5 separate regions of the Homo sapiens genome follow, and all the other regions are linked to region 2. Evidence: promoter capture Hi-C in human tissues and cell types (Jung and others, 2019). All regions are on one chromosome and are shown on one strand. The core of a region is centred on a gene start or on the middle of the fragment in contact, and the rest is flanking DNA. Distances in the headings are between cores, read along the strand shown. Region 1 overlaps LINC02398 (long intergenic non-protein coding RNA 2398). Region 2 holds the start of PDE3A (phosphodiesterase 3A). Region 3 overlaps LOC105369685 (a long non-coding RNA gene). Region 4 overlaps LINC02398 (long intergenic non-protein coding RNA 2398). Region 5 overlaps LINC02398 (long intergenic non-protein coding RNA 2398).

Region 1 (4,979 bases), core at 2,300-4,799, 300 kb after region 2:
TCTGATGAACCATTCAGATTATACTACCAAAAACTAGCCTACTTACAAAGGCTTTAGCTATGTATGATGTATGTGATTCTCTCTCTCTTTTGCTTCTTCTAATAAAAAAAAAAAACCTGGGACACATGTGCAGAACATGCAAATTTGTTACATAGGTATACGTGTGCCATGGTGGTTTGCTGCACCTATTGACCCATCCCCTAAGTTGCCTCCCCTCCCCCTCCACCTCCAACAAGCCCTGGTGTGTGTTGTTTCCCTCTCTGTGTCCATGTGTTCTCAATGTTCAGCTCCCACTTATGAGTGAGAACATGCAATGTTTGGTTTTCTGTTCCTGTGTTAGTTTGCCGAGGATGATGGCTTCCAGCCTCATCCATGTCCCTGCAAGGGACATGATCTCATTCCTTTTTATGGCTGCATAGTTTTTGATGACATATGTGTACCACATTTTCTTTATCCTGTCTATCATTGATGGGCATTTGAGTTGGTTCCATGTCTTTGCTATTGTAAACAGTGCTGCAATAAACATACGTGTGCATGTATCTTTATAGTAAGATGATTTTTATTCCTTTGGGTATATACCCAGTAATGGGATTGCTGGGTCAAGTGGTATTTCTGGTTCTAGATCCTTGAGGAATCGCCACACTGTCTTCCACAATGGTTAAACTAATTTACATTCCCACCAACAGTGTAAAAGCATTCCTATTTCTCCACAGCCTCACCAGTATCTATTGTTTCCTGAGTTTTTAATAGTTGCCATTCTGACTGGTGTGAGATGGTATCCCATTGTGGTTTTGATTTCTATTTCTCTGATGACCAGTGATGTTGAGCTTTTTTTCGTATGTTTGTTGCCACATAAATGTCTTCTTTTAATAAGCTTCTGTTCACATCCTTTGCCCACTTTTTGATGGGATTGTTTATTTTTTCTCGTAAATATGTTTAACTTCCTTGTAAATTCTGGACATTAGACCTTTGTCAAATGGGTAGATTGCAAAAATTTTCTCCCATTCTGTAAGTTGCCTGTTCACTCTGATGGCAGCTTCTTTTGCTGTGCAGAAGCTCTTCAGTTTAATTAGACCCCATTTGTCAAATTTGGCTTTTGTTGCAATTGCTTTTGGCATTTTTGTCATGAAGTCTTTGCCCATGCCTATGTCCTGAATGGTATTGCCTAGGTTTTCTTCTGGGGTTTTTATAGTTTTGGGGAATTACATTTAAGTCTTTAATCCATCTTGAATTAATTTTTGTATAAGGTATAAGGAAGAGACCCAGTTTCAGTTTTCTGCATGTGGCTAGCCAGTTTTCCTAGCACCATTTACCGACTAGGAGATCTTTTCCCCATTGCTTGTTTTTGTCAGGTTTGTCAAAGATCAGATGGTTGTAGATGTGTGGTGTTATTTTGAGGTCTCTTTTCTGCTCCATTGGTGTAAATGTCTGTTTTGGTACCAGCATCATACTGTTTTAGTTACTGTGGCCTTGTAGTATAGTCTGAAGTCAGGTAGTGTGATGCCTCCAGCTTTATTCTTTTTGCTTAGGATTGTCTTGGCTGTACAGGGTTTTCTTTGATTCCATATGAAATTTAAAATAGTTTTTTCTAATTCTGTGAAGAATGTCAACGGTAGTTTGATGGGAATAGCATTGAATCTATAAATTACTTTGGGTAGTATGGCCATTTTTGTGGTATTGATTCTTCCTATCCACGAGAATAGAATGTTTTTCCATTTGTTTGTGTCTTCTCTTATTTCCATGAGCAGTGATTTGTAGTTCTCCTTGAAGAGGTCCTTCACATCCCTGGTTAGCTGTATCCCTAGGTATTTTGTTCTCTTAGTAGCAATTGTAAATGGGAGTTCTTAATTTGGCTCTCTGCGTGCCTATTGTAGGCGTAAAGGAATGCTAGTGACTTTTGCATATTGATTTTGTATCCCGAGACTTTGCTGAAGTTGTTAAACAGTTCAAGAAGCTTTTGGCCTGAGATGATAGGGTTTTCTAAATATAAAATCATGTCATCTTCAAAAAGAGACAACTTGACTTTCTCTCTTCCTATTTGAATACCCTTTATTTCTTTCTCTTACCTAATTGCCCTGGCCAGAACTTCCAATACTATGTTGAATAGGAGTGGTGAGACAGGGCATCCTTGTCTTGGACTGGTTTTCAAAGGGAATGATTTCAGCTTTTGCCCATTCAAAATGATACTAGCTATGGGTTTGTCATAAATAGCTCTTATTATTTTGAGGTGTGTTCCATCAATACCCAGTTTATTGAGAATTTTTAGCATGAAGGGATGTTGAATTTTATCAAAGGCCTTTTCTGCATCTATTGAGATAATTATGTGGTTTTTGTCTTTGGTTCTGTTTATGTGATGGATTATGTTTATTGATTTGCATATGTTGAACCAGCCTTGCATGCCAGGGATGAAGCTGACTTGATCGTGGTGGATAAGTTTTTTGATGTGCTGCTGGATTCAATTTGCCAGTATTTTATTGAGGATTTTTGCATCGATTTTCATCAGAGATATTGGCCTGAAGTTTTATTTTTTTGTTGTGTCTTCTCGGTTTTGGTATCAGGATGATGCTGGCTTCATAAAATGAATTAGAGAGGAGTCCCTCCTTTTCAATTGTTTGGAATAGTTCCTGAATGAATAGTACTACCTCTTCTTTGTATTTCTGGTAGAATTTGGCTGTGAATCCATCTGGTCCTGGGATTTTTTTGGCTGGTAGGCTATTAATTACTGCCTCAATTTCAGAGCTTGTTATTGGTCTATTCAGGGATTCAATATCTTCCTGGTTATTCTTGGTAGGGGTTATGCATCCAGAAAATCATCCATTTCTTCTAGATTTTCTAGTTTATTTGCATAGAGGTGTTTGTAGTGATCCCTGATGGTAGTTCGTATTTCTGTGGGGTCAGTGGTGATATCACCTTAGTCATTTTTTATTGTGTCCACTTGATTCTTCTCTCTTTTCTTATTAGTCTAGCTAGTGGTCTATTTATTTTTTTAATTTTTTCAAAAAGCCATCTCTTGGATTCATGGATTTTTTTGAGGGTTTTTCACATCTGTATCTCCTTCAATTCTTCTCTGATCTTAGTTACATCTTGTCTTCTACTAGCTTTTGGATTAGTTTGCTCTTGCCTCTCTAGCTCTTTTAATTGTGATATTAGGGTGTCTTTCTAGCTTTCTGATGTGGGCATTTGGTGCGATAAATTTCCCTCTTAACACTGTTTTAGCTGTGTGCCAGATATTCTGGTACGTTGTCTCTTTGTTCTCATTTGTTTCAAAGAACTTCTTGATTTCTATCTTAATTTCCTTATTTACCCAGGAGTCGTTCAGAAGCAGGTTGTTCTATTTCCATGAAATTGTGTAGTTTTGAGTGAGTTTCTTCATCCTGAGTTCTAATTTAATTGCACTATGGTCTGAGAGACTGTTATGATTACAGCTCTTTTGCATTTATTTGCTGAGGAGTGTTTTACTTCCAATTATGTGGTCGATTTTAGAAAAGGTGCCACGTGGCTCTGAGAAAAATGTATATTCTGTTGATTTGGGGTAGAGAGTTCTGTAGACATCTACTAGGTCCACTTGACCCAGAGCTGAGTTCAAGTCCTGAATATCCTTGTTAATTTTCTGTCTTGTTGATCTAATACTGACACTGGGGTGTTAAAGTCTCCCACTGTTATTGTGTGGGAGTCTAAGTCTCTTTGTAGGTCTCTAAGAACTTGTTTTATGAAGCTGGGTGCTCCTGTATTGGGCTCATATATATATTCAGAATAGTTAGCTCTGCTGGTTGAATTGTTCCCTTTACCATTGTGTAATGCTCTTTGTCTTTTTTTTATCTTTGTTGGTTTAAAGTCTGTCTTGTCAAAGAATAGGATTGCAACCCCTGCTTTTTTTTTGTTTTCCATTTGCTTGGTTAATTTCCTCCATCCCTTTATTTTAAGCCTGTGTGTGTCTTTGTATGTAAGATAGGTCTCCTGAATACAGCACATCTATGGGTTTTGATTCTTTATCCAATTGGCATTTAATTGTGTGTCTTTTAATTGGGGCATTTAGCCCATTATATTTAAGGTTAGTATTGTTATGTATGAATTTGATCCTGTCATCATGATGCTATTTGGTTATTTTGCACACGAGTTGATGCAGTTTCTTTATTGTGTCATTGGTCTTTATATTTTGGTGTGTTTTTGCAGTGGCTGGTGCAAGTTTTTCCTTTCCATATTTAGTGCTTCTTCAATGAGCTCTTGCAGGGCAGGCCTGGTGGTAACAATATCCCTCACCATTTGCTTGTCCGGAAAGGATTTTATTTCTCCTTCACTTGTGAAGCTTAGTTTGCCTGGATATGAAATTTTGGGTTGAAAATTCTTTTCTTTGAGAATGTTAAATATTGGACCCCAGTCTTTTCTGGCTTGTAGAGTTTCTGCTGAGTGGCCCGCTGTTAGTCTGATGGGCTTACCTTTGTAGGTGACCTGGCCTTTCTCTCTGGCTGCCCTTAATAGTTTTTCCTTCATTTCGATCTTGAAGAATCTGATGATTATGTGTCTTGTGGTTGATCTTCTCATGGAGTATCTTAATGGTGTTCTCCGTATTTTCTCAATTTGCATGTTAGCCTGTCTTGCTAGACTGGGGAAGTTCTCCTGGGTAATATCCTGAAGTGTGTTTTCCAGCTTGTTTCCATTCTCCCCCTCTCCTTATGGTACTCCAATCAATCATAGGTTTGGTCTTTTTATGAAGTCTGATATTTCTTGGAGGCTTTGTTCATTCCTTTTCATTCTTTTTTCTGTATTCTTGTCTGCATGTCTTATTTCAGTAAGGTGGTCTTCAAACTCTGATATTCTTTCTTCCACTTGGTCGATTTGGCTGTTGATACTTGCATATGCTTCATGACGTTCTCGTGCTGTGTTTTTCAGCTCTATCAGGTCATTTATGTTTCTTTCTAACCTGGTTATTCTAGTTAGCAATTCCTCTAACCTTTTATCAAGGTTCTTAGCTTCTTTGC
Region 2 (4,887 bases), core at 439-2,938:
GCAGGGAGGTCCTCCGATGGGACTTGCTGCTGCAGCCGGACATCTCGGCGGACACGACGGAGCTGGACCGCCTCCTCCTCTTAAACACCGGGATATCTTCCTTGGTCCCAGCAATCAGCTGGGACCCCAAATGCTCCCTTGGAGCCGCCTCCGCGGACTGCGGCAAGATTTGTTCCACGTACCTGGCCAAGAGGATCCCCAGCACGCCGGCCAGGTACGCCAGGTAAGGTCTCCAGGCGACCTTGAACCTCTCTAAGGAAATGAGGGACACGGTCCTGACCGCGCTAGTCAAGGCGATCATGAGGACGCCCAGCCTCAGCCTCAGCACCAGCCATGTCGCGGCGGCCAAGCAGCTGAGCACCACCCCCGCGGCGGGGAGTGAGAGTAAGTGATCCTCCCCGACGCCCAGCCCAATCTGGACGAGCGCTTCCCCCCCGCAGCAGGCGGCCAGCAGCGCGACAGCCAGAGGCAGGCGCACCCCGGCGCGCAGGAGGTACAAGCCCATCCAGAAGAAGGCACACAGGAGACTGAAGAGCAGCGCCGAGGGCTGCAGCCAGGGGCTGAGCCGCGCACCGCCCCCGGGAGCACCTCCCCGAGGCCCCGGGAAGACGCCCCCTTCTGCTCCCGGGGCTGCTTCCTCCTCCTCCGCCGCCGCCGCCTCCTTACACTGCTCCAGGTCACAGCCGACCTCCCCGCGGACCAGCCTCACCAGCAGCGCCAGCAGAAAGGACAGGGAGCCCGCGCACAGCGCGGAGGAAAGTTTCCGAGAGCTCCGGAGCGGCTGCAGCACCAGGTCTCCCCAGCAGCCACGGCAGCCCGAGTCCCGCGGCGATGCGGGGTCCGCACGATGGTGGCAGTCCCGGCCCGCCGTGGGGGCTTGACTCACCCCACTGTGGACGGGCTTGTCCCTGACTCGTGCAGCGTCGCCGGGCACTGCCATGGTATAGGGTGCCCTCTTCACTGAATTCCCAGTGGCCCCCCGACGCCCCCGCCCCGACCCACGCGCGCGCGCGCACACACACACACACACACACGCACGCACGCTCTTCCCAATTCCACCCTCGGAATCCTTCTTCTCCCCAGGCCCACAATCCACTGAAAGTTTCAGCTTTCGAATAACTCCTGGAGAATGCTAGATGCTCCAATGAGACTTCTTCAAGTTAAAGGCTAGCACGCTCAAGTTGAAAACAAGCACGGGCAGAAACGATCAGGATTCCCCTTTTCTCTCTTTGAATATCTTTCACAGATTCTCTGCTCCACCCCCACCCCCGACTTATATCCTCCGGGGTCTCTTCCTACTTCAGGATTTCAAAAATTGCCCAATGCATCCCGCGCGCAGGAGCCGCTGACGCTGGAGGAGCCGGGGGCGCAGGGCGGGCTCCGGGCCATTCCGAGGCGCAGCTCGGCGCTGCGCTGCGCTGCAGCGCGCCGGGCCCGCGGCAGATGGAGGTCTCCCTTCTCCTCCTTCCTGCAGCTCTTTTTCTATCACTCTTTCTTTCTCCTCGGCCGATTCTCCCCGGCACGGCCCCAGGACGCGAATCGCCATTCCCTGGGGCAGAAAGCAAAGCCTCCCCCGCCTCTGTCAATCCAATTCATGGCAAAGGATGGAAAAAAAAAAATGGACAAGGGGCTGAGAAATAAGAAGTTGCTAAGTCCCGTCGGAGAGAGAGCCAGACCGAGAGACTAGCGGCAGCCGCAGAAGGGAGGGAGGGAGAAGGAGCGAGTAAGAGAGGAAGGGAGGGTGAGAAGAAAGGGAGGGTGAGAAGGGAGAAGGAGATTTGCTTTTTTTTTCCCTCCCCACTTCTATTTGATGCAAGGTTGGTGGTGATTTGCAGTTTTGCAAAGGGGAAACGAGTGGCGACGACTGCTTAAAATTGTATAAAACTGGCAACTGGAGTGATCGACAATTCCGCTTTCTTTCTTTAAGGCAACTCCCTAGGAAAGCTTTCTCAGCCGAGCTCCCGCCCCCTCCTGCGGAGGAGGCGCTACCCTCAGCTCGATTGCTCCTTTGCTGGGAAAGCGGCCGGTTCACCCTACAGGCTGGAGCAGGGGCTGCTGAGGCTGATCCACCGCGCAGCCCACCGCAGCCCCGGGGTGTGGGGGGCTGCGGCTAGCCCTGAGGCTGAGCTCCCTAGAACGTTGGAAGGAAAAAAAAAAAAAAAAGATTGTGTTTGCCTACTTGGCAGATGAGAGCCAACATACTTTCTACTGTCCCTGAAAATGACAGCCACTTCTACTGTCTGATTCAAAGATGTTCCCAAGTCAGGTACAACAGCAGTCCAATTTCAGGTGACAGTGTCATCCTTTGGTCGCTCCTGCTGGAAGGTCTGCTTTATGAGAACCCAAGCCTGGCCTGTTGGTTCAAATGATGGAAGAATCAGCCTTACCTAGACCACAATAGTATAAAAAGAAAGGAAGGAGAGGCAGCAGTCATTTAAATCCAGTGCATGAGTATTACACAATAGTTTTTGACTGTGGAAAGTAAAATTACATTGAGATTAAGTGACCGTATCCTCAAAAAAGGTTAACAAAGTTTAAAAGCCCAGATAGTTCATCAAAAAATAAAGAAAAATCTCAAGGGAGAGGTGAGGATAGGTGGGTTAACACTAGGAGAGATCTTAGAAGACTGTCTATGGCTGCAAAATACTACATCTTCGAGCAAAGCATATGAAAAAAATCAGGACCTTAGTTATTAATGAGTAAAGGTTCGTGTACTGCAGCAGTGTGATATTTGAGAAACTAAAAGAAAATTTTCAAGCTAACCTTTTTTTGGCAGATTATGAAAAAGAATTCAGTATCTGTTCAATGGACTTAAACTCTATTGATGTTCCCTGGGATCTAGTTGTCTTTTTAATATGATACTCCACTTTTAACATGGCTATCTTAGATGTCATTTGCCCTCACTAATAATAATCTTAATAATCCAATTTTGTCTTAATTATCTTGACATTCCAGGTTAAAGTGTATTTACAGCCTAGAGCATTTAGATAATTGATTCAATATGCCACTGTATTTTGTATGTAGACATGAAGCAATAAAAAAAGCCAAAAGGAGATCCTTGAGATAAAATTAATTTATGGGGACAGGGGGAGAAGATGACTTAAGTTTTAAACAGCTTCATGGGAAGCAGCCTGTTCTAGTAGAAGGCAGATATACTATAAAGGTATAGCTTCTCTCTGTCAGATGTCCAGAATTGTGCTACCACACAGGAGTATGAGTTGGGCAGCTAGTCAATGGCAGTGGGCACCATCTGTTTAATAATTAAGGAAACAGGAGCAGCAATGTCTTTGCCAAAGACAAATGAGCCCCCTAGCACGCACACATACTTTCATGAGTTTCCTTTTTAGACATATGATTCATATGCCAGATCCTACCTGGGACACATCGGAGTGAAAAACCTTGATTGGAAAATCATTCATATCTGTTGGCATCAAAAATAACATATTAAAATAATAAACCAAAAATCTGGCATATATCAAGGTTAAAAAGAAAAGCATAGTAAGGGAAATTTTAGAATATTTCAATTTTATCTGTCCCCTACCCCCACAATTATCTCAGTTCTTTAGAAAATTTAATATAATATTATCATAAAAACTGAACACTTAAGGTATGGGAAGCAGATGTTTTTTAAAAGTTGTAACAGGAAAAAATGGCATTTGCTAATGGCAGCAAAACAAGAATATTCTAAATCCATGTGTTAATAACATCCTGGAACTCTTCAATAAAATAAGGAGGCAATGTCCTGGCATCCAGGTTTCTTTAACAAATCATAATCAAAAAGTTATTTGTCCCATCAAAAGGAAAGAAGGTAGATTTTTCTCCCCATACCATCCAGAACCCAGAGGCAAGTGAACAAAGACAACAAAATGCTAATGTTAGAGAGATGCAGAAACCTGCAGGGCTATACTAACTGAAAGAAGCGACTAATAATGTACCTTTAACAGAGTATATTAAATGAAATAAGCTGCAATACATAAACTGGATAGGGAGCAATCACATATAAACACTGCCTCTTTTCTACAGATAGTGGTGAGTCCTAGTTCAAGAAAGTGACAACACAGCCAAAGAATAAGGAAAATGTTGTACGTGCAGAAAAATAGTAGAGCATGGACAACAGAAATAAAAATTTAAGTTTTACTTGATAAATCTTCCACTTAGTCAAATCTAGCAAACATGTTTTTACAGTTTTTTGGGAAAAGGATCTAACCCTTCACATTTGAGCTTTATTAAATATAGTTAAGCGTCAGGGGATTCTATTGTAAAATTCAGTAAGTTTACGTTCCGTAGTATGGGTTCAATCATTCTCTGCTACCTATCTGATTATTATATATTTATATCTAATAGGTACCTAAAACATAAGGTATCCAAAACAAAATTCTTAACTTACAATTCCCTTCCTACCTATCCCCTACCCACCCAAACTATATTTTCTCAATCTTGTTACATCCCAGTAAAGAACATAACCATCTACCTAGTTGCTCAGGCCCCAGAAGAGGGAACGGGTCTTGATTCTTTCCTTTGTTTATCTTGTTTTACTTTTAGTCGATTAGGAAATCCACTTGATCCTGTCTCTAAAATATATTCTAAATCCATTTACTTTTCACTGTCCCTCTTATAATAACCTGCCAAAGACCCATCATCTTCCTTGGCCAGGACAAGTGCAGTAACTAACTGATCTTGCCCTACTTATAATTCATTTTCTATATAGCAGAGTAACACTTTAAAAATATAAATTGAATTATGTCCCTCCCCTATTTAAAACTACCCAAAGGCTACCCATCGTACTTGCAGAATGCAGTCCTCATCACAGTCCTCATGACAGTCCTACAAGGACCTTCATGATCTTTCCAAGTAATTCTCTCTGACCTCTCCTCCTATTCCAATGCT
Region 3 (5,201 bases), core at 761-3,260, 260 kb after region 2:
GCCCGCCTCGGCCTCCCAAAGTGCTGAGATTATAGGCATGAGCCAACACACCCAGCCCCAAAGTCCCATTCTTAACGGAAAGGCAGCTGTAATAACTACATCCATACAAAAAGGAAAACAAAAAATAAATGAAAAATAGAAAATCACAATAGAGATATATACACTATAAAAAAGAGAAGTGAAAACTTAAGGACTAAAAAAATACAATGCCTGAAATAAAAATGTCAATTAATGGTCTTGAAAGTAGAATGAAGTGACAAAGAAAAGATTCTGTGAATTTGGAGATATGTCAATAAAAAGTATCCATATGAAGAACTGAGAGAAAAAATGTTTTTTAAAATATCTATAGCCTAAAGGATCTATGGATTAACACAAAAAGATCAAAGACGTGTATTTAGGCCTAGATATTTATAAAAGTTTAAGTATGTATATGATAATCCTCATAATTCCACTTTAAAAATACAGAGATGTAACCAAAAAGACAACAGATAAATTAAAATGAAATATTAAAACAAAAACTGTCAATCCAATAGAAGGCAGAAAAAGAAGAAACAAAAAACAGAAAAAACAAGCCCGTTCCCGCTCCCCAAAATGGTACACTGAAATCCAACCATATTAATAATTACATTAAATGTTAAAGATGTCAGACAAGTGAAACAAAATACTGCCTTACAGGCCAAATCCAGTCTGCCACCCATTTTTGTAAATAAAGTTTTATTGGAACACAGCCATGCTCATTTGTTTATATATTATCTATGGCTGCTTTGTATGACAATGAGAGTTGAATAGGTGCAACTGAAATTGTGTGGCCCACAAGGCCAAAAATATTTATTTGGTCCATTACAAAAAAAGTTCACCAACCATTGGTCTAAATCTCTGCTATGCAATAGAAATATAATACAAGCCACTTATGTGATTTTTTGCTGCAGGTACATAAAAAAGTAAGCAAACTTAAAAACAGGTGAAAATAATTTTTAAAATATATTTTATGTAACCCAATATGTCCAAATTATGATGTAAACACATAATCAATATAAAAAGGTATTTAAAAGATATTTTACAATCTTCCTACTAAGTCTTTGAAATCCTGTGTGTATTTCCAATAACAGCACAACTCAATTCATACCTGCCATATTTCAAGTGCTCAGTAGCCACATGTGGCACATAGCCATGGTAATGCATTGCACAAGTCTAAACACTTCAAGAGATGAGACTTTGGTAAGAGAGATCAGCATGTGTTGCTTGGGAAGAATGTAAATAATGGTAGCCAGAGAGAGGACTGTGATATATTAAATATGGCCACAAAAACATTGCAACTCCTGTCATTAAGTAGTGGAATCTATTTACCTATTCCTTGAAAATAGGCTTACCTTCTGACTTGTTTTGACTAACAGAACGTGATTAAAAAGTGTTGTATGAGTTCTAGAGCCTAATTCTCAATAAGTCTTGCAGCTTTTTCTTTACATGCTTGGAAATTACCCTTGTTGTTTAAGGAAGCCTGGATCCAACTTTTGAAGGATAAGAGATTTCACAGATCATTGATTACAAAGGCAATAGCCAACACCAACACCCCAGACATGAGAGGGATGCTACCTTCGATGCAGCCTCCCTGCCCGGCCCCAGTCAAGCCACCGATGACTGCTACTACCTGAGCAAGCCCAGGTGAGGCCTGCGGAAAACAGCCTGGCTTACCCAAGGCAAAATTTCAGAATCATGGGCACATACATGGTTGTTGTTTGAAGCCATTAGGTTTTGGAGGGCAGGAATGTAACGCAGCAATAGATGACTGACAGAATATAATTCTATAACCCACGTCACCTGTGTAAGGCCTTTCTGGGAAGTAGGATTTCTTGCTGAGCAAACTTCTATGCCTTTTACTAAAGTACTGAGAAAATTTAGCTGCTCTCTTGGGATGAAAAGAAATTTAGGGCTATTTTTAGCCCTCTCTGCCACTTATAGTTTCTAAACAGCTCTTTTCATTGCCTATTGTCACGTCTATGGCCAGGACACATCTGTAAGACTACACTTTCTGGCATTCCAGTGAAAAGAGCCATTTAGTCTCTCTACTCTCAGACTTACATTCCTACATTTAATAAGAAATGCTGTAATATTCCCTTTTTCTATGTTTTCTAAGATTATGGTTGTCTAACTCCCTCCTTCCCTCTACAGCTTAACAAGATTAGCTTATACGGTGGTGGAGTGGGTGGCTGCTTCTGCCCAGTCACCTCTTTTCCTAATTTTTTCCTGTCTTAAAGCTATTCATGACAGATTCCCTTTGAAAAACCTCTGGCTGGCCAAAATGCAGTCCGGTCACAAGTCTAAAGTATACGAATGAGAGTGAATAGAGAATGGGAAATACATTGGTTGTTTGCACATTATCCTACACTATGGTTTCAATGGTTGTCTCCTCTGAAATTTATGTTGAAGCTTAATCCCCAGCCTGGCAGTATTGAGAGGTGGGCCTTTAGGAGGTGACTGGGTCATGAGGGATGGATTAATCCATTCATAGATTAATGGATAAATGGGTCAATGGATGGGTTTTCACAGGAGTGGGACTGGTGGCTCTGTAAGAAGAGGAGGAGGCACCTGAGCTGGCACACTCAGCTCCTTCACCATGTGATGCCCTGCACCACCTCAAGACTGCAGAGTCCTTACCAACAAGACGGCACTCACCAAATGCAGCCCTTAGACCCTGGACTTCTCAGTCTTTTTAACTGTAAGAAATAAATTCCTTTTCTTTATAAATTACCCCATGTTTCAGGTACTCTGTTATAAGCAACACAAAACAGACTAAGACATCTTACCACATTCATCTATCCAAATAAGTTGCAAGTATATGGTCAGTAAGTTATCTTATAAGTGCTCCCACACTGAATGCATGGTAAATGCCAAATATGTAATTGTAATGTATTGGTTGAGCCAATAAATCCATCCAGATAGAATTCATGCCCTTCACATGTTGGTTTTACTCTTCTCTGGATGATGGTGTTACCTCCGATCATTTTGTACTCAGTTGGCATAAATTTTTCTCTAAGGCTGGGCACAGTGGTTCACACCTGCAATCCAAGCACTTTGGGAGGCTGGGACGGGCAGATCACCTGAGGCCAGGAGTTCAATACCAGCCTGGCCAACATGGTGAAATCCTGCCTCTACTAAAAATACAAAAATTAGCTGGGCGTGGTGGCAGGCGCCTGTAATCCCAGCTACCTGGGAGGCTGAGGCAGGAGAATTGCTTGAACCCAGGAGGTGGAGGTTGCAGTGGGCCGACATCGCGCCACTGCACTCCAGCCTGGGTGACAAAGTGAGACTCCATCTCAAAAAAAAAAAAAAATTCTCTAAACAGCCATGTAGACCATTAGTGTCTACTGGATAATTTTCTACTCAGAGACAAATAGAAAAGTGAATATGGGAGAGAAAGAGAGAGAATTATTGTTCACTTCATACCCATGAGAACATATTCTTAGTTCCCTTTTGACAGAAAATAGAGAAGTCCTTAATCTATAATTTTTGATGCTTTGATTAACCCAACAAAACAATAGCTGTGGTTTACAATCTGCTCCAATCAAGTAGATTTTATAGCTCACTGATTTTCTAAAATATCCTCATAAATAGATTCTATTATTATTACTATAAGACAGTGTTATTATGCCAGTCATTGACACAATGTATGTGGGAATCAGTGCAAGACCCTGGAACATTGGTCTGGCATGAAACATAAATGAGATGCCATTCATTATATGAATGAATAAAAATATGGCTGGGTGCGGTAGCTCACACTTGTAATCCCAGCACTTTGGGAGGCCAGGGCAGGCAGAACACTTGAACCCAGGAGTTTGAGACCAGTCTGGCAACATGGAAAAACCCCATCTCTACTAAAAATATAAAAAACTAGCCAGGTATGGTGGCACATCTTCAAGTCACAGCTACACGGGAGGCTCAGGCAGGAGAATCACCTGAGCTCAGCAACTCAAGGCTGCAGTTAGCCATGATCATACCACTGCACTCCAGCCTGGGTGACAGGAGTGTGACCCCGTCTATAGATTCTCTACTAATTTTCTAAATCATCAATGTGATTAGGAAATGGCAAGAGCTCAGATTTATCTAACAAGCAGCATTTTTTCAAAAATCCAAATTCTTTTTTTTTTTTTTTTTTTTTGAGACGGAGTCTTGCTCTGTCGCCCAGGCTGGAGTGCAGTGGCGTGATCTCGGCTCACTGCAAGCTCCACCTCCTGGGTTCATGCCATTCTCCTGCCTCAGCCTCCCGAGCAGCTGGGACTACAGGTGCCCACCACCATGCCCGGCTAATTGTTTTTTGTATTTTTTTTTTTAGTAGGGATGGGGTTTCACCGTGTTAGCCAGGATTGTCTCGATCTCCTGACCTTGTGATCCACCTGCCTTGGCCTCCCAAAGTGCTGGGATTACAGGCGTGAGCCACCGCTCCTGGCCCAAAAATCCAAATTCTTAGCTATCTCTTTTCAGATCCTATTGAAACTTTAAGACAAAATAATAAAAATATTTTTGGAAATAATATAAAATGAATACATAACATGTTTTCCATACATATGTAGGTCAAAGTGATGGCAGCGGTGTCCCATCCAGAGTGGTCTCTGCAAAGATGCCGACTACAGCAGGGGGAGGCATGGCTGGGGCTGCATGCCCTGTGGAGCTGGCAGGGCTGGGAATAGGTGGAACCCAGCCCCCTACCCAATTGGCAGAGCGGGAGCCCCACACTCCCAGGCACAATTGCAGCTGCTCAGCTGTGGCTCTCGACCCAGGCATCCCTGCATTCTTAGGGGCAAGGAAGCCCTCTTTCCTAGGCAGGCTTGGAGGTACCTGCTCCTGCTCCCTGGCCTTTCCCCACTCCTTGCACCCGCTCCAGGACAGAATGAAGTCGTGGCTGAGCCTGAGCACTGTTGCAACCCTGCTGGCTGTGCACACACTTGGGGTGGGACTGACACACCAGCCTCCTGCTGCCTTGGCCCCCTCCAGACTTTGGGCACTAACCTAGCATGGGAGGGAGGCCAAGCTGGGGGCTGAGGGCAGCTTGGCACAGGCCTGCAGGTGCCCCTCTGTATGAACAGCCTGGGCATGGTGGACAACAGGAGGCACACAGACTCCTGGGGAGAAAGGGGTGGGTTCCTGGTGAAACCCCACCCTCAAGCCAGGGATGGCCTGAAGCCTGGGGGCTGGGCTGCCAGCTC
Region 4 (5,114 bases), core at 2,102-4,601, 330 kb after region 2:
AACGTTTAACACTTCAAAACAATGGGAGCATCGCTAGTGAAAAGGATACAGATAAAAGTTTTTAACCTTTGTTCTCATCACTTAGAATGTAAAGCATCTCTCGTGAAAGTCAGCCCCAGACACAACTTTATCAAGTGCCATTTTGCAGTAAGTTTAAGAAAGCAATACATTGAATATTCTTTTACTTTTCCCCAATATGGCTGATTCTCTGGTGTTTGCATTCCTTGGCCATGAATTACTAACTCCTGTTATTTTTTGTTTTCCAAGAAAGAATTAATCTGAAAGTATAATTTTTTTTTTCCTGGAGATATTCCGCTCACTTTCTGGCTGTCTACAGATAAGCTGTGTATCTGAATTGATAAAAACCAGATTGTCCAACTACTGATGAAATACTGATAGCACCATGAAAATTTTTGTATAAAACTCTATTAGGATTCCTAACAATGTGCAGGCCTTTGGCCACTTGTGTTCACTGAGGTTAGGCATGCAGCCTAACATTGCCTTGAAAAGCATGGATCTATCCCAAAGCACAGCCAATGTCATACTAAAACACTTAAAGGAGTTACAGACACACAAATTTTAATGATTTAAGGCCAGATTCAATCCTTTGAGACATTTGCATAACTCCCACTAGAAATTAATAGAGGTTGCAAAAATACAAATTTGGGTAAAAGTTTTAACCTTACCCAACTCAGGGATTCAAACATTGTTCTTTAATATCTGCTGGTGCAGAAAACTTTATCTAATGTTGCTCGATATCTAGACTATCTTCTGTTAGCAATTTGGGAAGTTGTCAAAGATACCAGATCATGTTTGTTGAGCTAATATTGTGCTCCACATTTCAGAAGAGGGTCTGGCTACTGCATTGTTCTGTTACTGTTAATGTTATCACTGCGGCTGGTGTTGTTATTAATCATAGACTCGTCATAAATTTATAAGGTGGATATTTGTATTTTAGTTTTATAAATGAAGAAAATGAGTGGTTGAGGGGTTAAGTCATTTTTCTGAAGTAATGCAGCAATGTGGTTTCAAGTCAGGATTTACACCCAAGACACTATACCCTCTACAGGTCAGGCACTTTCACCTACACCAGGATTTACAAATGGCTCAACACAAGCACCACGGGACTGAATACAGAAGAGCAGAGTAGTGAACACCTGAGGATCTGCCCAAAATGTGGGGCCTCCAACCAGCTTAGGCCCAGCCCTGCACAGCCCTGTAGATCTTATTTGTGCCCAGAGGTACAAGAAATAAAAATGTAGAGGGGTAAAAAATGACAGAGGTTGAAAATATAGGCCCTTAGATCAATCAACTCTCTTACTAACTACACTGACTGGTCCAAATAAACTTCTCCATCCTCAGTTCTGTCAGAAAGCAGCAGAAATAAGACCTATTAAGTTATTCATAATATTCAGTAACATCTAGTCAGTTTTAATCTTTTGATATATCTCCTAATTATTATGTACTCAATTTAGAATTTTAGAAAACACCCGTCTCTTACTCCCCTTGTTTTCATCCTTCCTTTTTTCTGAAAATGTAAACTATGGTGCAAGAAAACACCACATTGTTCATCATAAATGAGAAAACTGGAGGTTTATTCAAAAGTGCTAGGTTTACAAAACTGAGCCAAGAATTTATAAGGTGTAGACTTTCTCTGACACCTGACAGCTTGAATTCCTCTGACTGTTTTGACACAGAAATATCAAGACATTAGCTTTCTGGCCCTTCTATATAATACCTTGCCAAACCCACAACATGTAGAAACCTATCAATGTGATAAAGAATATGAAAAACAAATCCTGGGAAAATGATTAAATTCGGTGGAGACTTTATTCCAATAGTCAAATTCATCTTTCTCGGAAGAAGTAGAGGAACCTGCTAACATCGCCTGGGAAAATTTGAAAATGAAATATGTTTACCTCTTTTTACTTATGCAAATAACATCTCAACTTAGTTAAAACAATAGATTCAAAACATCCTGTGATTGAAAGGGCAGATTTTTTTTTCAGTTACTTACCCCAACCGATTAAAAACAGAAAAATCATAATGTATGTCATAAACAGAAGTGACATAAAACATTTTCCCCAAAAAACAATGAAAAATTAGAAACAAATGCAAAAAGAAACACTAGAGAAATAAGAAGAAAAATATAGGTCATGGAGAAAAAGTGGTTTTGACCAAAATAAAGTTTTAAGACATTAAAGAACCAATCCACAGCTTTGATTTTGCCTGTATAATGTAGTTACTAAGGGCATAGGCTCAGCCACTTGATAGCTGGGTCATCTTGGGTAAATTACTTCATCTCTCCTCGTCTTGCTTCCCTCCTTTATATTGTAGCCATACCTACCTCAAATGTTATTATAAAGACTAAGGAATCTGATACTCGTATACTCTTAGAATCTGCACTGGTATATAAAAATATCTTACCGCATAACTGCCAAATAAATGTCACAACTTTATTAAACTTTAAAATGAATTTGAAAGGAAGCCACATTTAGAAAGCTGCTTAATGTATTGAATGCCATATTTTCTACCCTTTCCATGTAATATTGGGGGAGAGAGGAGAAATGCTATAAAGTTGTGCTCATCCTCTTTCAGCATCTTATTCATTTTTTAAGTTCTTACACTTATTTTAGAAGAATGCTGACACTAAACGTGATACAGTAATGAGTAGCAAGGTTAACTGCATCCTACATCTCTTGGTGGGGAGGTTATATTATTTTCTATCACTGTAATTAATTAAATGTTCTGCCTATAGCAAATCAACCATTATGTTAGGAATGGCATTAGATTATTTGCTAAGGTATATGTGTGCAAATATTATACTAACATGGAAGAGATGGAAGATATAATTAAGTCCCCGCAGTTGGTGTCTACATATGGAAAAAGTCAGCCCTCCATATACTCAGGTTTCATATCCCATAAACACTGTATTTCCCATCCACATGTAGTTGAAAAAATATCTCTGCAGTTCAAACCCATGTTGTTTAAGCTTCAACTGTATTATCTAAATATCTATTTTTTTTGAAGTTTGAAGTTTGGTCTAGAGCAGTGGTTTTCAAACTTTAGCATGTATTAGAATCACCTGAGGTCTCTAAAGATGGGTTGCTGGTTCCAATCCCAGAATTTCTGATTCAGTAGATCTGGGATGGGTCTGAATACGTGCATTTCTAACATGTTCTCAAGTGATGGTGATCTGGGAACCACACTTTGAGAACATTTACTTGAGACTTATATATTAGAGTCACTTGGGGAGATTTTTTAAAATACCAATAGTTAGTAAATCAGAATCTTTGGGGGTGGATGGATCTGGGTATCTACATTAAAAAGCAAACAAACAAACAAAAAGCCCTCCCTAGCTGAGTCTATGGTAGAGCCAGAATTGAGGATTCCTGGTCTAGAGAAATGGTTGTCAAGGACGGGTCCAGAATCAGATTCACTTGGAAGTTTTTCCAATGTCCTCCTTTCCCCATATCCAAGGTTGCACGATGCCCTAAGAAGAGGTGGAAATACAATTTTTAAATGTTTCTCAAAATTAATCTTGAGATTATTTTAGTTAAAATTACCTTATATTTATTAAAAATGAAGATCCCTTGCCTACCTACAAAGTCTCAGATGCTTCACACTTTACACAACACACCTGTGTTTGAAAATTAGTGGTGTAGGGTTAAGAAGGAGCGGGTTCTAATTATTTCTTGCAGGTTAGGAAGAGCACTGGAACCTCACAATCAATATAATAACTGGTGAATTCAGAGCTCCATAGCACCAGCCCTAGAGAGGTGAAAGAAGGATCCCTGCAAGCAGGAAGTCAGGACGGAAAGGGGCAGGTGGGCAGGGATAGAAAAGTGAGTGCTGAGTAGACGCTTCTCTCCTTACCAGAACCAGTAACCACCCTGCTGGCTGCTCCTCTAATTTGCCCTGGCACAAGGACAGAATGTGTTCTGCTGATACACGTTTCTAAAGCACCAAGCAGCCTCTGCTGACAGCTGGCTTGGTTGCTGTGTCAATGCAGAAAAAGTGAGAGAGCAAAAGAATTTGGTAAGAAAATATTTTTCTTTACTTTCCCTTCTAAATGGAGGGAAAAATCATGGTGGGGGTGGGGACAGATGGGATGCAAATGTGATTATGTAAGGTACTGAGAACAAGAAAGACTAATGCAAAATGTTTAGGACAGTGGGTATTAAGGAGAGAATTGACTTTGTGGAGCTGTTTGTCTTACTAACAGCCATTCAAAATCCAGCACCATATTACTTGTATGTATTGTTATTCTATTAGCGATGATTTCAAAATGCCTAGAACTATTTCTGGGCATCTGCAAAAGATAAAAGTGAATTAAGAACTCTCACATCACCTTGGAAAGATAAAGACTAGTTATGTGTTGTCAGCCATAGTCTTTCTCCACACGGCTTGCCAGAGTTGTTTTTTTTTTTCTTTTTTCTTTTTTTTTTTTTTTTCAGTTTTATTTCTAGAGCTGATGGTCTTCTGATGCCTTCACACCAAAAGGGAACCCAGCTCCGTTAGCTGGCTTCTAGGTGAATCTCTTGGCTGATGTTGTTTTCCATCAGCCTACAGCTTGGTTGTGCATTGGCAGTTTTATGCAATACTGGGTTCAGCAAAAGAAACAAAGGACAATTGGCTCTACTTAGTGAAATCTGCCTAAAGAATTTTATATCCCAGCATAGGTTTCTAATGAGATTCTCAAAAAAGTAAACAAATTCTAAGATATAAATATCAGTTCACTTATTAATGTCCCATGCTTCTAAGCAGCATTTTTCCATGTGTGCTGTGGATGGTCACTCTAACTCCTTAACAGTCATTTAAAATGTTACAATGAAAAATACACAAAGTACTAAAAATGCATCAAACATATCATAAAGTTGTAAAGTCAAATAATTCCCCTGCGAACTTCACTTGAAATGAGGAAACTGAAAGAGCTTGTTTTCTTTGCACTTTATCTGAAGTAACCAGAGGGTTTTATTTTTGTTAATTTATCAGATTTACTAAGATTGTTCTCATTTAAAGTAAAACTAATTCTAGGAAGATTGCATCTCCTTTGCTGTGCTATTGCTTGGCATTGTTGAAATAATAGCTACTATACCAACATGGCACATCTT
Region 5 (4,589 bases), core at 1,086-3,585, 350 kb after region 2:
TGAGAGGGTTTAGAACATACCCAGAGGTGTGAGGATCTAACATTAGGTGTTACATGTACATGAAACTAGCATGAAAAAGAAGAGATAGGAATATGTTGAAAAGTTATTGGAATATAAACTAATCTAAAAATAAATACATAAATACTGTACCTCTTTTCAAAGCACCATACTGAATTTTACAAGTAGACAATAATGAAGTGGCTAGACAAATCTGGCAAACAAACTAGGTGCATTAATTACCATGAGGCTGCTGCTAACCGACAACTGTTTGGTGTCACCCACCATACATTTGAAAATAATTGCATTTAAAACTGGGTATCACTGGTTATATAGTTTGGGGCTAATTTATTTATTTTCAAATTGCTTCATAAAACATAACTGATAAAAGAGAAAATAGATACATTAGGCAACATACTCACATTTGAGTCATATCTAATACTTGTATGTCAATAAATTAAATAAAATCTAAACTAACCATTGTTAATAAAAATTCCATTTGAACTTCTATAAATTTGTGGTCATATGAACCACTGTAGAATGTAACTTGATTATTCCACAATGTATATGTACTTCAAAACATCATGTTGTACATGATAAATGTATACAATTTTATCCACAATTTAACAATAAAAAACTTTTTAAAAAATTAAGAGGATTAAAAAATGATATGTCAGGTTAAGTGCAGTGGCTCACAACTGTAATCCCAGCACGTGGTGGCACCAAGGTAGGAGGACTGCTTGAGTCCAGGAGTTTGAGACCAGCCTGGGCAAGACAGTTGGACTCAGTCTCTAAAAAAGAAAAAGAAAATTAGACAGGCGTGGTGGTGGTGGCGCACACCTGTGATCCCAACTACTCAGGTGGCTGAGGCGGGAGGATCTCTTGAGCCCAGGATTTCAAGGATTCAGTGACCTGTGATGATGCCACTGCGCTCCAGTCTGGGCAGAGAGCAACACCTAGTCTCTTAAAAAAAATTTTTTAAAGATATGTCATGCTGGCCAAGCACAGTGGCTCACGCCTGTAATCCCAGCACTTTGGGAGGCTGAGGCGGGCAGATCACCTGAGGTCAGGAGCTCAAGACCAGCCTGGCCAACATGGCAAAACCCCATTTCTACTAAAAGTACAAAAATTAGCCGGGTGTGGTGGCAGGCACCTGTAATCCCAGCTACTCAGGAGGCTGAGGCAGGAGAAGCTTGAACCAGGGCGGCCGAGGTTGCAGTGAGCCGAGATTGAGCCACTACACTCCAGCCTGGGTGACAAAAGCAAGACTCAAAAAAACAAAACAAAAACAAAAAGGTATGTCATGCTAACTAATCAAAAATAAATAAAACATAAGTTTAAATTAGGGGAAAAATATAATTCAAAATTATTAAAAGAGAAAAGAAAAAAATTTTATCTCTTTATTTTAAAAAAATTCCAAAGAAACTACAGACAATCCTTTCACAACATGAATTTAGAACTTTTCCTCGTCATCCTCTATTTTCAAAGAAATGACTACATACATTTGATGTATGATCCGATTCAACACAGGGCTACAGCTATCAGTGTTTTAAATAATCTATTATTAGTTAACAATAAACTGACTGGTACAACAAATCCTTACTTGTCAACAGGTATTTGTCAGGAGGCCAGACTTCTAGTTATGATGATGAGTGTTTGTGTTACACTGCTAAGTTTGCAAAGTAATTTTTCACATGCAGTATTTCATTTGAATCCCACTGCTCCCTAATAAAGTATTATCACCAGTCTCCTTTGACAGAGAAGTAAAGTGACAAAGTCAAAACGTTAGTACAGAAAAGAGTTTCAAATAGAACTCTGCTGCTATAACTCCAGTTACGCAGAATCTTTCCAAAAAAAAAAAGCTCAAAATACAACTTGAAATGCAGAAATAAAAACAACCACAAAGGCTTTGAGAGTTTTAATTATTTGTATCAAGTGAATATTCTAGTATTCAAGCACTTTTAAGTAATAGTTCATAGTTGATACTTTGAGACCTACGAAGAAGGCACAAGACAAAAAAGAAAGGAAGGAAGGAAGGAAGACATAAGAATAATAAAAGCATAAGGTTCTGTTGGCAAACTTTGTTCTCTCATAGGGCAACATAGGATTATCATTTATCAGTACTTTCTAGGGGGTTGTCATAACAAAGCGTCACAGATTGGGTGATTGATTTAAACAACAGAAATTTTGTTCTCCTGGTTCTGGAGGCTAGAAGGTTGAGATCAAAGAGCAATGACCACCTTTTCCCTGAGTCTTCAGATCATCTTCCTTCTGTATGTGTCTGTGTCCAAATTTCCTCTTTTTATGAGGGCACCAGTCATACTGGATTAGAGCCCACCTTAATGACCTCTTTTTAACTTAATTACCTCTTTAAAGACCCTATTTCCAAATACAGTCACATTTTGTGGTACTGGGGGTTAAGATTTCAACATATGAATTTCAGGAGACACAATTTAGCTCATAATATATAACTCACAAATATTTACCACCCACTTACTATGTGCAGAGCACCATGCTGAACTCAGAGTACTAATCCCTGCCCTTGATGGAATATCCACCTATGTATGTAGATATGACACAAAACTGAAAGCTAAATAAAACTCCAAAAGTCAAATGACAACAAAATAGACTATTGCAACTTCATAATCTTTTTGGCCCACATGACAAAAGTTATATTTTATCAGTATATCCTTTTCAGTAGGGAACTATGTACTAGATTTTAGGAAGAATACTCCTCAAATGGTTAAAATATTTATAACTTGCTGTTCTGTCAACTGCCTGAAAAATCAATTAGCATCATATATTCCATTAATTGATAATAAAGATATCACTATTATATTATCAGAAAAAAACTTTTTAAATGACTAAGAAAGTTAGTACATAAAATATACTAAAAAAGGGAACAATATGAATTTGTAAGTTTGCAACAAAGGGAAAAATGTAAATAATGTGATAGCCACCAGTGAAAGGAATAAATAGCTTTAAATACAGTGGCTAGCTTCAGCTTGTTTTTCTAGTTCTTTAAAAATATATGTATAGTTTCAGCCGGGCGCGGTGGCTCATGCCCGTAATCTCAGCACTTTGGGAGGCCGAGGTGGGCAGATCACGAGGTCAGGAGATCGAGACCATCCTGGCTAACACGGTGAAACCCTGTCTCTACTAAAAATACAAAAAATTGGCTGGGTGTGGTGGCGGGCACCTGTAGTCCCAGCTACTTGGGAGGCTGAGGCAGGAGAATGGCATGAACCCGGGAGATGGAGCTTGCAGTGAGCTGAGATGGCGCCACTGCACTCCAGCCTGGGTGACAGAGCAAGACTCCGACTCAAAAAATATTCTCCTTTCTATTTTTTTTTTTTTGTACTTGAGGTTTTTGTTGAACCCAAACCAAAACATTTGAAAATATTTTGAAATATGTGAAAAGTATAATATACATCTGGATTTGCCCAACCCTAGTAAGGATACAGGAAGCATTATTTTTATTTAACGTTTATATGATAGCTGCAGTGTGTCTCAATCCTAAGGTATTTTTTACAATAGCCCTATGGTGCAGGTTATAATTATTATTTTCATTTTGGGCAAGAAATTTACCAGTACTTGCACAGTGGGCTTCAAGTAGAGGTTTTTATAGGTCTGTGTTCTTTAGAGGTTTTTGTTGGTAGGAACATTGAACCAGTAGACACAAACCTAGCTCCAAGTCTTGGCTTTACTTCTTATTGACAATTACATTGTATATCTTCTTGGTAGATTTTATCATTTTGCAGTTTCTCCCTTTCCTTACTAATATATTTTGATTTAAACACAATTTTGCCAGGTATTACTATTACTATACCAGCTTTCTTTGGTAACTATTTGCCCAATGTATCTGTGGTAGGCAGAACAATGACTTCCTAAAGATGTCCACATTCTAATCCCCAGGGCTTGTGAATATGTTACAGTATATGGCAAAGGGAAATTAAGGTAGCAGATGGAATCAAGATTTCTCCTTAAAATAGGGAGATTATTCTGGGTATGTATTCACAAGGACGCTCAAAAGTAGAAGAGAGAGGCAGAAGAACAGAGTCAGAGAAATAGATGTAATGACAGAAGTAAGTTCAGGGTTATGTGATATGGTAAGGACTTAACTCACGTTGCTGTCTTTGATGATGGGGAAGGGACATCACAAGCCAAGGAATGTGCGAGGCCCTTTAGAAGCTGGAAAAAGTGAGGATGAAGAATGTTATGAGATATATATTAGTTATCTTTGCTGCTGTAACAAATTACCACCAATTTAGTGGTTTAAACAAAACAAATTTAATATTCTCCTTTCCTACAGCAACTTGATTTGCCTATTAACCTTAGAGTCACTGTCTTACATGCCATAAACATTTATACTTATCTTCTTTCCTTAACAAGTTTCTGGAAATGTTATGTTTAATGACATATATTCAAATTAAAAATATTATTATCTTGCCAATTATCTAGCAAGATTAACAGTAAAAAATAAGTAAACATATTCTTTAAAATTTTAGCAATGTCATACAATACTCAAGTTAGAAGTGACTATATGAATTTTCTATATAATTCCCTCGTTACGAGTGTGTGTGTGTACATGT

The links. The method cuts DNA at HindIII sites, captures the fragments that hold promoters and counts their contacts. A contact is called where the count stands out against the background at its distance.
Region 1: a fragment that was not itself captured here is called in contact with the fragment with the promoter of PDE3A in region 2 in 2 of the 25 tissues and cell types used here (bladder and heart right ventricle).
Region 3: a fragment that was not itself captured here is called in contact with the fragment with the promoter of PDE3A in region 2 in 1 of the 25 tissues and cell types used here (dorsolateral prefrontal cortex).
Region 4: a fragment that was not itself captured here is called in contact with the fragment with the promoter of PDE3A in region 2 in 1 of the 25 tissues and cell types used here (aorta).
Region 5: a contact is called between a fragment that was not itself captured here and the fragment with the promoter of PDE3A in region 2, in 2 of the 25 tissues and cell types used here (bladder and mesenchymal stem cells).

What each region holds. Positions count from the first base shown.
Region 1 is chr12:20,068,005-20,072,983 of GRCh38, reverse strand. The region is part of intron 2 of LINC02398 (long intergenic non-protein coding RNA 2398); the gene reads right to left. Among named protein-coding and RNA genes, the nearest start is that of LINC02398, 56 kb to the right of the region's middle. The HindIII fragment of the contact is 4,269 bases long and covers 1,415-4,979 here.
Region 2 is chr12:20,365,338-20,370,224 of GRCh38, reverse strand. PDE3A (phosphodiesterase 3A) reads right to left here and starts at 1,688. Exons shown (of 16, transcript NM_000921.5): 1 at 1-1,688. The coding sequence starts at 940. PDE3A-AS1 (PDE3A antisense RNA 1) reads left to right here. Exons shown (of 2, transcript NR_186033.1): 1 at 1-384. RefSeq lists a silencer at 356-650. The HindIII fragment of the contact is 7,833 bases long and covers 1-3,727 here.
Region 3 is chr12:20,102,134-20,107,334 of GRCh38, reverse strand. It overlaps LOC105369685 (a long non-coding RNA gene), which reads left to right. Exons shown (of 4, transcript XR_001749038.3): 2 at 1,494-1,662; 3 at 2,548-2,716. Among named protein-coding and RNA genes, the nearest start is that of LINC02468, 23 kb to the left of the region's middle. The HindIII fragment of the contact is 4,215 bases long and covers 1-4,117 here.
Region 4 is chr12:20,039,826-20,044,939 of GRCh38, reverse strand. All of the region lies in intron 2 of LINC02398 (long intergenic non-protein coding RNA 2398), which reads right to left. Among named protein-coding and RNA genes, the nearest start is that of LINC02398, 28 kb to the right of the region's middle. The HindIII fragment of the contact is 5,431 bases long and covers 636-5,114 here.
Region 5 is chr12:20,019,231-20,023,819 of GRCh38, reverse strand. LINC02398 (long intergenic non-protein coding RNA 2398) reads right to left here. Exons shown (of 3, transcript NR_040098.1): 2 at 4,124-4,188. Among named protein-coding and RNA genes, the nearest start is that of LINC02398, 6.8 kb to the right of the region's middle. The HindIII fragment of the contact is 4,103 bases long and covers 284-4,386 here.